Regions from separate parts of the Homo sapiens genome. Here region 1 is linked to region 2. The links are contacts of gene promoters, found by promoter capture Hi-C in human tissues and cell types (Jung and others, 2019). All regions are on one chromosome and are shown on one strand. Each heading gives the region's core, a stretch centred on a gene start or on the middle of the fragment in contact. The rest is flanking DNA. Distances are from core to core; before and after follow the strand shown.

The links. Contacts are between HindIII fragments. The study calls those that stand out against the background at their distance.
Region 1: a contact is called between a fragment that was not itself captured here and the fragment with the promoter of GSTM5 in region 2, in 2 of the 25 tissues and cell types used here (aorta and spleen).

What each region holds. Positions count from the first base shown.
Region 1 is chr1:109,569,540-109,573,855 of GRCh38, reverse strand. It overlaps GNAI3 (G protein subunit alpha i3), which reads right to left. Exons shown (of 9, transcript NM_006496.4): 2 at 77-119. Among named protein-coding and RNA genes, the nearest start is that of GNAI3, 23 kb to the right of the region's middle. The HindIII fragment of the contact is 7,050 bases long and covers 1-4,316 here.
Region 2 is chr1:109,709,216-109,713,627 of GRCh38, reverse strand. It overlaps GSTM5 (glutathione S-transferase mu 5), which reads right to left and starts at 1,377. Exons shown (of 8, transcript NM_000851.4): 1 at 1,280-1,377; 2 at 935-1,010; 3 at 445-509; 4 at 63-144. The coding sequence starts at 1,315. The HindIII fragment of the contact is 7,760 bases long and covers 1-4,412 here.

The sequences.
Region 1 (4,316 bases), core at 956-3,455, 140 kb after region 2:
AAAATGAAAAGATACTATGGACTTTATATGCATTAGGAGAAATCCTAGTCTAACAAAACGCTACATTCCAACTTACTTCATCTGTTTCACAATGGTGCTTTTACCAGATTCTCCAGCACCTGTAAGAAAAGAAAACCAGACTTTGAATTTCTCGGTAATCAACATAAAAGTATAATATCAACATGAATGATAACTCTAGATTGATGAAAACCACGGGTCCTAGGGAAAATTTTGGTGAGGCTTTCATGTCTATCAAGAAAATGTATGGAGCTTCTCCACTACAGCATTTTGCTTTCTTTACATAACTCAGCAACCAAGTATAATTTATTGAAAGTGTCCTAGGGCTTGCTTGGTATCATTTGTGTAAAATAGGCATATCCAAGGACAGATGGCAACATAAACTTTTGGAGGAACTCATTCACTACATAAAACATGATATAAACACTGAACATGGGCAAAAATGAAATCATTATTTTTTGGTCTATTCATTTTTATTAATTCCTCTGTTGCTGCCTGCCTATACCACAGAAATGTTCTGAGAGCAATACTACCAGTCACAGGACTAAAGATGTTTCAAATAGAAGCAGAAAAGGCATTGTTCCTATCAATTTCTCACCATATGTCATCTCAAGACCACCCTGCCCTCCTTAGCCAGCTGGAATCACTTTAAACAAATGACCACAAATGTCAAGCTAGCCTTCTGACCTCCTTGACAAATCCACCTGCTAGATCTTCCCTAGTCAACTCATTTTCCTATCTTCCAAGATGCCTATATCACACCACCTCCTCTCTCTCAAATTTTATAAACCCCCTCCCAATTCTGACTCTCAACTGATGATCCTACCCTACTTTTCCATAAAAATTAAAGCAATCAGAAAAAACTACATTTTCCCACAACGACATCTACCAGTCTATCTGTACCTCCATTAATATTCTCTACCTTCATCAATGGATGAAAAGTCTCTGCCAATGTTTTAAAATCAACTTCTCCCCTTATGCACCTTCATTTTACCTACTCAAGGTCATGGCTGCTGCAATTTCCCATGATATTTTCCACATCTCAAATATGATCAGTTTTTTCTTTCCACTGGGTCATTCTCATCAGCATGCAAACTTACTATACTATTTTCCATCTTTAAATCAACACACATACACACCCCTAACTTTCCTTGACCCCACACATTTTCTTCTAGCTACCACACCATTTTCTCTATCCCTCTTTGCAGCAAAACTCCTCTAATGTGCCATCTATACTCAGTGCCTCCAATTTCGTACATCCAATTCTGTCCTTCAGCTATGCTAATCAGGCTTTCATCCCCACCACTCTAATAAAACTACTTCTCAAGGTCTCCAAAAACTTCCATCTTGACAAACCCAGTTGGTCAATTCTTGGTGCTCATCTTAGCCTCTCAAGCAGAATTTGTCTAAGTTGAAATATTTTCTTCACTAGGCAGGCTTCTAGCCAACATACCCTTCAGGTTTGATTCCTACTTCACTCCTCAATCTCCTCTCTCCAGTTTCTGAATTATTATTATTATTATTATTTGAGATGGAGTCCCGCTCTGTAGCCCAGGCTGGAGTGCAATGGTACAATCTCGGCTCACCGCAACCTCCGCCTCCCAGGTTCAAGCAATTCTCCTGCCTCAGCCTCCTGAGTAGCTGAGATTACAGGCGCCTGCCACAACACCCAGCTGATTTTTGTATTTTTAGTAGAGACAGGGTTTTTCACCATATTAGCCAGGCTGGTCACAAACTCCTGACCTCAGGTGATCTGCCCGCCTCAGCCTCCTAAAGTGCTAGTATTACAGGCGAAAGCCACCGCACCCAACCCAGTTTCTGAATTCTAAAGGTTATATTGCTTCAGGGGTCCCTCCTTGGCCCTTTTCCCTATCTAAACTCATTCTCTAAGTTATCTAATCTCATGGTCTTTATTTTTTGGAGACAGACTCTTGCTCTGTCACCCAGGCTGGAGTGCAGTGGCGCAATCTTGGCTCACTGCAACATCTGCCTCCCAGGTTCAAGTGATTCTCCTGCCTCAGCCTCCTGAGTAGCTGGGACTACAGGCACACGCCACCACACCTGGCTAATTTTTGTATTTTTAGTAGAGACGGGGTTTCACCATGTTTGCCAGGCTGCTCTCGAACTCCTGGGCTCAAGCGATCCACCTGCCTCGGCCTCCCAAAATGCTGGGATTACAGAAGTGAGCAATCGCACCCGGCCCTAATCTCATGGCTTAAACACTATTCAAAAACTGATCCTAACAGTTAACATCTAGTGAGTACCCTCGGCCACACTGTTCTAATCACTTTGTTTGTAATAACTAATTTAATCCTCACAATAACCCTATGAGGTAGACATTATTACCCCCATTTTACAGATGAGATAAATGATGCAGACAGATGTCAAGTAACTTGCCTATAATTACACAGTTAGTAAGTGGCAGAACTGAAATTTGCATTCACAGTTTGGCTCCAAAGCTGGTGTATACTGTCTCTATACTAATGATTTCCAAATTTAGATCTCTAATCTTGGCTTCTAACCTTGGCTCCAGATTCATATATCTAAACCATCTACCTGATATTAGATTTCTAGTAGGTATTTAGATTTCACAAACCTAAAATGCTCAAAACTGAGATACTGATTCCCCAACTCACTCTCACCTCAAAACAAACCCTGCTCCTCCCTCAGTCTTCTCATTCCAGTAAATGGCACCAACATTCACCAGTTGCTCAAGCCAAAAATGTTAAATGACATGTGACTAACGTGCAGATAAGACAAGGATGCCAGTGCCAATCTGTATATTAAATATTAGTAAAGCTTAATTTTTTTAAATAAAGCAATATAAATAGTTAATATAATAGTTTTAACAGTTTGTTCCTGAACATTGGAAACCATAGGCCTAGATCACTGCAAAAGCTTCCTAAATAGTTCAGTGCTTCAGACCTTGCCTTTTCTAAAGCCAGTTTGCCAGTCAGTAGGTGGAATAAACTTTGTAAAATGTAAATTAGATCTTGTCACACGATCTTCAATTATACTCAAAATCCATGGGCATTATGGTGCAATATGCTCTGGCCCCTGCCTACCTCTTCACCCTCATCTCTTGTTACTCTCCACTTTGTCCTCACAGCTCTTGTCAGACCAGCATTCTTGCTTTTCCTCCAACATACCAAACCGGTTCTTACTGAGTTAGGTCCTGACTCTGTCTTTCCTGTCTTTGCGTTTACTGTTACCTGAAATAAGTTTTGCAAGATTTTCTTCCTCACAGGAACAGCCTTTTCTGACTAATCTATCTAAATAGCTCCCACCCCGTCACAGTCTCTCCCCTTATTCTGTGTTATATTTTTTCATAGCACTTACCACTTCTTCACATGACAGATTAGCTCATTTCTTATCTTCCCCACTAAAATATAAGCTCCATGAAGGCTTATTCATCCCTGCATTCCCAGGGCCTTAAACTGGTCATGACATAAATTATCTACTCAAATAAATATTACTAAACAATGAATAATATTTAGTAACCATGATTCTTTACTAAATATTTCTCAACTTTACTAACCAAAAGTTAATTAAAATCCAAATATAAAAATTCTAGACAACTACATTCTTACAGAATCAAAAGGTACATTTATATATGATCTTGTCTTATTACATAATCGATAATCAGGGGTAGTACTAAATAGTTAATACTCAAATAGCACATAGTGACTTTCTTAGGATGCTGTTATAAAAAGGTGAATCCTCTCATTCATATCTAAAAAATCCAATGATTCTACTCTGGGAAGAAAATACAAATGCATACCAGTTATATTTTAAATTGCTTAAAAGACAGAATTCCCAGATTATCCATAGTAACAAGAGCTACTAAATTAAGAAAAGTTGAGATTAATGAATTAATGTGTACCATTCTTTTATATATTGAAAACCACATTTCCATCATTCATGTGAGATTATCTTGAATGAAATAATAAATCCATTAATCTCAGAATCAATTTCTACCTATCTCATTAATCCTACCCTATGGATGCGCTGATTAAAAAAAAAAACAAAAAACCCTCTGTTGCCCTACCTCTCTCACATTTTTCCAAGGCTCCCTGAGAAAATGTCAGTTTGCCTTTCCCTTTATTATCACACTAATATCTTCTCCTGAGCTTCCAGTTCCATCTCAGGGGCACTATTTTTAAAACCATCAGTTTATCTAATAATTCTCCAAATTATTGAAACACTTTCTATAACCCTTTCTTATTAGGTCTGGGCTCTTCACTTTTACCTCAACTCTCTGTGCTCCATTGTTCTAGCAGTAAGCTCCCTTTTCATAA
Region 2 (4,412 bases), core at 128-2,627:
ATCACAGCCCAGCCAAGGAGGAGGTCACCTTCCCCCCGCACATTGCAGCCACCCACACTCACACAGGTTGTGCTTGCGGGCAATGTAGCGCAGGATGGCATTGCTCTGGGTGATCTTGTGAGCCCCATCAATCAAGTAGGGCAGCTGGATAGATGGGAAACCGGGGAAGCTCAGTTGGGCCACCAGGCTCCCCAGCATCCCCTTCCCATATGCAAGGGCAGAGAGGAGACCAGGGCCTGCTCATGGCAGGCCTGAGATAGAAATACTGTCACACTAATAAATGAGCTGGGACACAGAACATCATGCAAGGGCTGTGTAGACAGCCAAGAGTGAGAGGAATTGGGCAGAAGACTCCTGATCTTAACACCTCTAAGGTGGGGAGAGGAGATGCAGTCAGAGACACGTCGCACTTTCCCCCAAAACCGCCCCTTCCCCTGCACCTACATTGGGAAAGTCCAGGCCCAGCTTGAATTTTTCATTCAGCCACTGGCTTCTGTCATAGTCAGGAGCTGTGGTGGGGAAGAAGTGAAAACAAACCTCCCCAGAGCCCAGCCCTCCTTCCCGGGGACCCTCCCAAGGAGCCAGTGGCAAGATCCCTGAGACAGGTGGATCTAGAATCTGACCACTCAGTCCCACATCCCAGGGTTCAGGGAGAAAGAATCCCACTGAGGGCTCTGGACCCCACAACGGCTAAGGCTTCCAGGGTTTAGGGAAGCTCTGAGGGACACCCAACCCAATTAGACAGGGTGTCCAGCATCCCGCCCCAGCATTCTGCCTTGCAAGGCCAGAGGGCTCACTCACGGGAGCTCAGGGAAGGGACAGCCTGCAGCTCCAGCAGGGGAGGCCTGCAGAGGCAGCCACAGGTGGCCACCATGGGTTGCTTGGTGCCAACTCAGCGTGAGTGGGCAGGGCCCGGACACGAGGGTGCCATTACCGTCCCCCAGCGTGTACTTCTTTTCCACATAGCTTGAGTCTGTGTATTCCAGGAGCAAGCGGATGGCGTGGGCCAGCTGGGAGAGATGGCCCGCGGCTCGGGTCAGAGATGGAGGGTCCCTGACTTGGTGACTTTCTCTGCACCAGGCCAGCCCCTAGTCTATACTGCACGTACCCGTCGCCTCCTCTACCCGCCCCCACCCCCAAACACACACACAGCGTCATGCACAGGCCCTTCTGAGGCGGGCAGCCCTGAAGAGGAACGGTCCCTAGAGCCAGTCCTGCAGCTACTCCACACATCCCCGCCTCCGCCCCCTGTCCCACCCACCAGAGGACCCTCGCTTACCCCACGGATGTCCCAGTACCCCAGAGTCATGGGCATGGTGCTGGTTGGTGCGGATTCTGCAGACAGGCATCAGCGGAGCGGGGCTCAGACTTTGAGAGGCCCAGGAGGGGACAGGCGGGGCCTTGCTGCGACCCCGCCCCTCGGCCCGCCACAACCCCGAAACACGCCATTCTGTAGGCCCCCGAGCGAGCGCCCGGGGCTGGAATCAATAAGCCCCCTCCCGCCTCCCAGTCCCCAGGGTTCCGGGAGCGAGGTCAGGGCGCCCAGAAGCCCAAAGCGGGGCTCGGCCTCGCCAGCTTCCCCAACCCGCCCTGAGGCTCCATGAGTCCATCCAGCCCTTGCTAGGTCCACAGCGACTTGGCTGTGCGCTTGAGACACCAGCCAGATCCTAACGGAGCAAAGCTCTTCTCCCTTCTCCTCCCTGCCCGCAGAATCCCTCAGCCTTCTCTCCGCTGCCGAGTTCCCAAGGGCTCTGGGAGACTCCGGCTGCAGGGGTCAGACTAAAAAGTGGTGGTCCCAACCTGGGAATTTAATTCAGCCCCTGTCACTGTAAGAGCAGGACTTCCTCTGATCCGAAAGCTACTCCGAGGGCTTAGTCTCCCCTCTAGCCCCGCCTACACAGGAACAGTGTCAGTGGTATAGGAAGGACCCCCAGGAAAAGGGCCAGAGTAAAGGAAATGTGGTCTGTGTTTTCTGTTAGGGGCCTTTGGATACTGAGTCCTTCGGTCATCTGGCTAAGTACTATGTAAATTAGCCACTTCGTATTTTGGCACAATTTATGAATCGAAATCCAAGGATCAGATCCAGCAAGTTGGTGAGGTATCTGAGGTGCCCCCTAGAAATGTCCAGCCAGTCCACTAGGTGAACCTCACAGAGACCGGAACAGCAACAGCAACAGTGAGTGCAGTGGCCACAGAGAGCAGGCGAGGGAGGATGGAAGAACTTCCCGGACCAAACTGAGGGTCCGGCTGCTATTTCTCTAGGCCCAATAACGAGATGCAGATCAAATGGGGAGGAAGAGAGGTTTTATTTCTGCAACCAGTTACAGGGAGAAGGCCTGGAAATTACTACCAGACCAACTCAAAATTAAAGTTTTCCAGAGCATATATACCTTCTAAGGTATATGTCTACAAGTAAGTGTGCATTCATCTAAAGACATAAGTGATTAACTTCTTTAATCTGTAACTGAGGTCTGGGTCCTGAGGACCTTACTCTGGAGCCTCAGTCTATTTACTTAATCTAAATGGGTCCAGGTGCGGGGGATGATTGCCCTTATCTTGTCTCCTGCTAAATCATGGAGGTTTGGGGAGTTCCTTCAGATGCCCAGTAAACTTGTTTGTGGAGGCCTGGGGAGTTTCTTCAGACTCACAATAAAACTTGTTTAATTCTAAATAGGTCCTGTTAAGAATTCCTTCGTTGTTTTGTCATGCTTTAAGGCCCAGGAAAGGCCTAAGCAAAACTCTTGGTGGGCTTTTGTTACATCCAGCCTCTGTATAAAGGTACTGGCTTTTTTCAGCTTTTAATATTTAATTTCATCACTCAGTCAGTACTGAAACAGTTGTTATGGAGGCCTGTGTTAGTGACACCTGGTCTGCCACAGAACCTGTCCCTCAGAGAAGCCAGAACCCTGTCCTGCTGAGGAGGGAGGTCAGAGGATGGTGGCCAGAGAGGAGCCTGAGGGCTCCCCACAGGATCACAGGCAGGGACTCTCCCCTCTCCAGATCCACCATGCCGGACCTGGACCTGGCTCCTGACCCATGTGTGTTCTTCAGTATGAGACGGTGGCTCCAGTGGCCTTTGAAGTCACACCGTGATATGTGACCCATGGTACAACCTCCGCAAGAACAATGTCCAACCTGCCAACTTTCTTCTTTCAAGGTAGAAGGAAGACTTTCAAAAGAGTTGTGCAATGGATTAGCCTGGGGTTGACTGCTTTTTTTAAAGGATATTACAAATAATAATGGATATATGGAAATAGATGATAGACCTTTAATGAGAAATCATTTTGCAATGTAAACCAGGCTGTTGTGCTGCAAAAAAAGTAGTTTTTTGTTTTTTGTTTTTGTTTTTGTTTTTTTGTAAATTAGCTAAAACATTGTTAGGACTCCAGAGGATGAACCCAGTATATCAAAAAAGTTTCAAACCACCTGGATAATGTGTGGTTTGGGGTTGAGTAAACAGGTAGACTTCATCACATCCCTATTAGGCCACAGAAATCAGGTGGTCAGCAGGTGGCTGCTAAGTTGGGGCACTTGGACACTGTGTCACTGAGGCTGGCAAGGCACAGTCCTTGTTGCAAACACTCCCCACCCATCCAGACCTGGGCAGTACTCCCAGCTCAGATACCTGGCAGGTATCCATGTTTAGGAAGCAGTTTTGGCCTCACAGTGAATTCTCACATAGATTTTCCTGCATTGAGGCAATAGCACCAGCACAGACACAAGTGCCTGGCCCTAGGAATCATTATATTTCTCATTATGCATTAAGAGTTTATGATTTTGAGTTAATGGGTCTTGAGCTGTGAAAGATAAGATGTCTAGATCCAATTGATAAAAACGATTTTTTAAGAAAGCTAACACTCATGAGAATAATAATTTTGAAACACATAGAACCAGTACTGTTACATTAGTATTGTTTGAAATACTTGTTCCTTGGTTCCATAAAGAAATAGCACTTGAACATAAATTTAATTTCCTCAGCAAGGCTATCGGGGAAACTGCCCCCAGTATTTCAACATAGGTTCTATTTTCCATAAGTGTCAGCTGGCTGAGAAATAAAGAGAAAGAGTACAAAGAGAGGAATTTTACAGCTGGGCCGCCAGGGGTGACATCACATATCAGTAGGACCGTGATGCCGGCCCGAGCCTCAAAACCAGCAAGCTTTTATTAAGGATTGCAAAAGGGGAGGGGGTGTACGAACGGGGGGTAGGTACAAAGATCACATGCTTTAAGGGGCAAAAAACAGAACAGAGATCACATGCTTCTGAGGAAACAGGACAAGGGCAAAAGTAGAACTCCTGATAAGGGTCTATGTTCAGCAGTGCACGTATTGTCTTGATAAACATCTTAAACAACAGAACACAGGGTTCAAGAGCAGAGAACCAGTCTGACCACAGATTTGCCAGGGCCAGGTT